Linked DNA regions of Homo sapiens: region 1 is linked to region 2. Evidence: promoter capture Hi-C in human tissues and cell types (Jung and others, 2019). All regions are on one chromosome and are shown on one strand. Each heading gives the region's core, a stretch centred on a gene start or on the middle of the fragment in contact. The rest is flanking DNA. Distances are from core to core; before and after follow the strand shown.

The links. Contacts are between HindIII fragments. The study calls those that stand out against the background at their distance.
Region 1: a contact is called between a fragment that was not itself captured here and the fragment with the promoter of RAB6B in region 2, in 2 of the 25 tissues and cell types used here (aorta and stomach).

What each region holds. Positions count from the first base shown.
Region 1 is chr3:134,185,162-134,187,861 of GRCh38, forward strand. All of the region lies in intron 9 of RYK (receptor like tyrosine kinase), which reads right to left. Among named protein-coding and RNA genes, the nearest start is that of RYK, 64 kb to the right of the region's middle. The HindIII fragment of the contact is 4,811 bases long and covers 1-2,700 here.
Region 2 is chr3:133,894,632-133,897,331 of GRCh38, forward strand. It overlaps RAB6B (RAB6B, member RAS oncogene family), which reads right to left and starts at 1,251. Exons shown (of 8, transcript NM_016577.4): 1 at 766-1,251. The coding sequence starts at 835. RefSeq lists a silencer at 1,221-1,270. The HindIII fragment of the contact is 14,643 bases long and covers 1-2,700 here.

The sequences.
Region 1 (2,700 bases), core at 112-2,611, 290 kb after region 2:
TTATAAAGCTTCGGACCAATGCAATAAGAGGAAGAGAGAAATGTAAAAGACTGGCAAAGCCAAGATTCATATTCTAGACCCACCTAGGAAAATGCTGAACCAACAATAAAACCCACCCCACTGAATTCAGATACTATGATTGTCACATTTGGTCTTTAAATGTGGAACTGTCAAAGCTGAGAAATCTCAAATTTCATTTACTTCCACATCTACCCATTGGAATCTCATTCCTGCTTCACTTCGTCTTGCTTCACTTCCATTACTTGCTACTAAGTGTCCCCTTTCCAAGCAACTTCTCTTAGTTAAGACTTTTGTAGGAATGTAAAATGGGTAGACAAAAAGCCAAGGATCTGAAACATTCGGTACTTCTTTGGAAAAGGTGCTTCATATCAATGTCTGCTGGAATAAACTCTAAGTGTCTACAAACTGCTTGTGGGATTTCTTAGTAAATAGCAAAATGTGCCTTTATTACTCTTTCTATAACCTAAATAATTTCTAATGAAATTATGGCCAGGACTACTGGAGGCTAGTAGGATCTTTTCAAGACTGAAAACTAGTAATAGTTGGAGGTCCCTGCCCAGTTAAAAAGACTTTTACCATTCCCTCAACTGGTAAGGAGATCTAAGTACAACAAATGGTAATTTCAGAATGTGTCATTTTATACTTACTTTTTTCAAGTTTTTATTTTGATAAGCATGTTCTATTAAAGCAAAGGACACTTGAATGATGATCTAAGAAAACTCAATTAAAGATAAAATAACTTTATCCATTTAGTAAGAAAAACTCGTTTTCTTGGATTCCTTTCCCAGTCTCATCCTAGTCTTTTAATTACATAATGAAAGGTCTATCTTCAAGATGTACACATTTGAAAAGGGTACTATTAAATATATTCTAAAAGTTACAAGGATGCACAAAATGATTTTTAAAAACAAACACTTGCTTATTTACAAAACTATAAAAATTTAGTAGCTATAATAAAGAAAATAAGAACTTAATACCAGTAAATCCAAACTGATTCATTTATTTTATGGAATTCAATTTCACAATATTTAGTGTGTAAGATTCGGGTTGCTAATTTCAATCTCTGGAAATTTATACTGGAGTATCTATGAAGTCTCTGTATAAAATTATGAATATTTTTAAAAGCCAAACTCCAATTTTCTGCTTATGCCTAAAGGCAAAGGTCAGTGCTTTCTAAAACACTGTTTTTTTATTTTATGCTAAACTTCTAATTGTGCAACATGTAACAAAGCATACAGATTTGTGAAAGACCTTGGTCAGCTCTATGTGGCTACAACTAAAACCATAAAAACAGCATTCCAAAATAATCAATCTCAGAGACAGTCATGTGGCGCTATCTCTCTAACAAATTTGAGGCAATGCACTTCCCCTCTGTCCCCCATAAGGACTCACTGTGCTTTCTCTTATTTCCGCACAGCTCACAGAGAACATTATAATTACAGTGGTAAAGCACAGAAACAACCAGTGACTACAAGTCAAGCATATACGGAAAGAGAAGTCTTATCTTGTGAAACAGTCCAAGTATACTCATTGTGTTTTCTTATCACTATTATTTCCTTTTATCTCCCCTTCCAACCCTAAATCAACCCAATTTTGTATAAAAACCTCCTTCCTTAATTCAGAACAAGTCAATAATAGCCCAGTTCTACACAGTCTATAGAATACTTACAAACCCCGGAAGAAATATTTGAATTAAGGAGTTTCCTTAAAAAAAAAATGAGAAAAGAGTAACAAAAGGCTGTTGTTTAATAACCTTATAGTTCAAATTTTACATTTACAAAAAGTAATATGTAAACTCTCCTAGTCAGAAAACCTACTGGGACCTAACTTACACTTGGTCTTAGCCGAAAGGATGGACCTAACACATAAATATTACCCTTTAAAAGTGTTTTTGGTGCTGGGAAGGGGTGAATGAATAAAATAAATATTGAATGATATAGTAAATTAAACCACTTGTTTAGAAAATATTAAAGAGGTGTGTGTGTATGGATGTATTTGTAGCAGCCTTAAACAAACAATTTTGTTCAATTAAAAGCAATTCCAAAGATTTTTTGTTAGATTGGTATAACCCAACTTTTTACAACCAATAAACATAAACCCTTCATACTTTCCATGTATTCCTTTAAGTAAATTTAGAAACAGTTCTTATAAATTAACTTCATAAACTGTATAAAATTTTATCACTTTCTACTCATAAAACTGAATTTAATCTTCCCTTCAGTTTCTGAAGGGAAAGTGCTAAATTTGTTTTTAGATATTATTAGCATGTCTTCTCAATTTACATCAGACCTGATAGACATTAAGCACCCTATAAATTATCACATTTTTCTTTCTCTCTAGATAAGCAAATAAGACTTACCTCAGAATTATTATCATCATTTTTAAAAATTAAAACAGGATCTTGCTCTGTCACCTAGGCTGGAGTACAGTGGCATGATCAGGGGTCACTGCAGCCTTGAATTCCTGGGCTCAAGCAATCCTCCTGCCTCATCCTCCTGAGTAGCTGGGACTACAGGTATATGCTACCACACCCAGCTACTTTTTTTTTTTTTTTTTGTAGAGACGGGGGGTCTTGCTATATCGCCCAGGCCGATCTTGAACTTATGGACTCAAGCAATCCTCCTGCCTTAGCCTCCCAAAGCATTGGGATTACAATTGTGAGCCACTGCACCCAGCTCT
Region 2 (2,700 bases), core at 1-2,500:
GGTGCCCCTGTATCATTCCCCAAATCGCCTCGAGTTGGGGTAGCCCTCACTGCAATTGCCCAGATCCCTGGGCAGCAAGGAGACTAACAAGCGCCGGCGAAGGGCAGCGGGTCTAGAACCTTCTGTGCCCAGTCGGACGTGAGCCAGGGGAGGTAGGCTCCCCGTTCCCCCATGGCCTGCACTCGCTCTTTCGAGCAGAGACAGGTGTCGCTCTTTTCTCCCCGGTGGCTGTTTGTCCCACGCCCTGGACGTGCCCTTTCGCATGGTTCCCAGCAGGGTCCGCAGGGAACACCCCTCCAGTGCAGCGGAGTGAGGCCCGGCCAGACCCCAGCTTCGCTTCGTTCTCCAAGGGGGGCGCCCGTCGCTCTCCCCACCCCCGCCAGCACCCAGCCACCTGCGCGGTCGCCCGCAGCCGGTGCCGCAGTGTGAGCTAGCCAGCGAGCCCGGTTCCTTCACGCCCTGGCCAGCGCCGCGGAGCCAGCCGCCGCCCTCCGGGCCCCCTGCAGCGCCGCACCTGCACCCACACCCCGGGCCCCCCACCCAGAGCCCACCCTCACCTCCACCCCAGGCTCCAGCGCCTCCTCCGTCCTCACCCTTGGCCCCTCCCCAGCCCGACCCCGCCCCGACCTCCCCATCCCTGTCCCTCTCCTCTACCCTGGCAAGGAGGGGCCTTTCCGAGCCTGGGCCGGGGGTCCCAATGGGGTGGGCGATTGGGCGGCGGGGGTCGACTCGGCGACAAGCCAAGAGATTAAGCCGGGTACTTACCGCTCTGCTCCCCCAAGAACACCAACTTGAATTTTCTCAGTGGATTCCCAAAATCTCCCCCTGCGGACATGGTGCTGGCAGCCGGGGCCGGGAGAGGAGGAGGAGGAAAAAGCGAAGGAGCAGGGAGGGGAGAGTAGGAGGGCGAGGGGAGGCGGCCGGCGGTGCGGGAGCCGGAGGGGGAAGGGCTGGCTGCGCGCGTCCCTGACTCCCCAGCTGCGTCCCGGTCCCGGCCTGCGGCTGCGTGTCCGGCGGCGGAGGAGGAGGAGGAGAGAGAGGCGGAGGCGGAGGAAGGCTGGGGCTGGGCTGCTGCGGTCGGCACTGGCTGCGGTGCGAGGGGCGCGCTCTTTACGCCCGAGGCGCGGCGCTGGGAGAGAGGCGCGGGCGGAGCGGGGCGCAGGGACGGCGCGCGGGGCGGAGGAGCGCTCTCCAGAGCCGCGCCAGTCGGCCCCCTCCCGCCTGCCTCCTCCGCCGGCGCCTGCGCTCTGTGCGCTCCCCAGCCTCTGATGTCATGCGGGGCCCGCGGGGCTGCGGGGCTGGGGGGCGTGCGCCCGCCCACCCGAGCCCGCACCCGGGCAGGAGAGAACCTCCTCGCCGTACCCCTGAGAGCCCCCCGGGGGGGACCGTGTCTCGCTGCCCCGCTGCGTCTGTCTTCCCCACTCTACCCCTCTTTTGAATCCAGAAAATGACAGAAATTGTCAGGGGACATTTGTTTCTGGTCTTTTAAACCTAGATGCCAGTCCCTTCCTCCACCTCGCGAGACACCGATGCACAGCGCAGTCGTCCGACCGACAGGGCGGAAAGGAACGAAGGTGGGGGAGAGCCAGGGTGTGGCGAGGCCCGTCAGGGCGGTCAGACCTAGGGAAACCTGGCGTACTTGGCGCAGATGGGGCTCGACTCTTGCCCCCCGTGGCTTCTAGCCCGCCCTTCCCTCTCGAGGCCTAGACCCTTTATTTGGGCGGCCTCTTGTGGAGTCTGTGGGTGCCCCCGCAGACCTGGCCAGCGAGAGAGGAGCTGCCAATATCAGGCGCGCCTACCTCAAACCAGCTGCTCATTTGGATCATTTTATGCCAAATCCTAACCTGCCCCATGGGAGAGAAGGAACGGTGACGCTCTGAATGCCAGTGCCACTATCTCCAGGACAGTGCCCTGCGTTTCTTGATCCCGGGGTCGCCAGGCTGACAATGCCACTCCCCACCCTGGCAATTAGGTGTATCTGGACAATGAGCTATCTGAGGACATGTGGGCGACCTCTCCTTGGCCTCTACTTGCCTGGTCCATCGAGGCACACAGACCAAGTTGTGAGTGAGTGAGAGCAAAGAGCAGACGCCAAGTGCTAGAAACACTCCCAAGACAGCCCGAGCCTAAGGCATGCTGGTTAATTGAGGTTTTACAAAGCTGTCCCTTACTGTTCTGCCACAGCGTGGTCTTGTTCATTTATGGCTGTTCAGTGAGCATTTATTTGAGATAATAATCTGCATGTCGGTGAACACGATGGTGTGTGCACGCATGTGTTATAGAAAGAGAAAGAGGAGTGAGACACAACCTTCACCTCCAGATTTCTCGTGGACACTTGTTACCCCCTTTTTGACTTATGGGGCTTGCTTGGGCAAGCCTATCTGTCTCCCTGGTGTGCTCACCTCGAATCTCTTTCCTATTTCTTGTTAGAAACCTGACCACAAGTTCCATAAAAGCAGTAGTTGAAGCTCCACCACTGCATCCCAAGGACATAGCTCAGAGTTTAAGAAATAGTTGTTGAATGTTTGAATGAACATCTAGAACTCAAATCAAAATAACTGTCCTATTCTCATAATTACCTTTAGTTTGGAACCCCAGGGATTGTAAGTCATCACCTAGAATATCTGCCCCGTTGTGGCTGGCACCAGGCTCAGGGTAACCCTCCAGACACCCACCCACTTCTCTGGGGCTCCTGCTCTC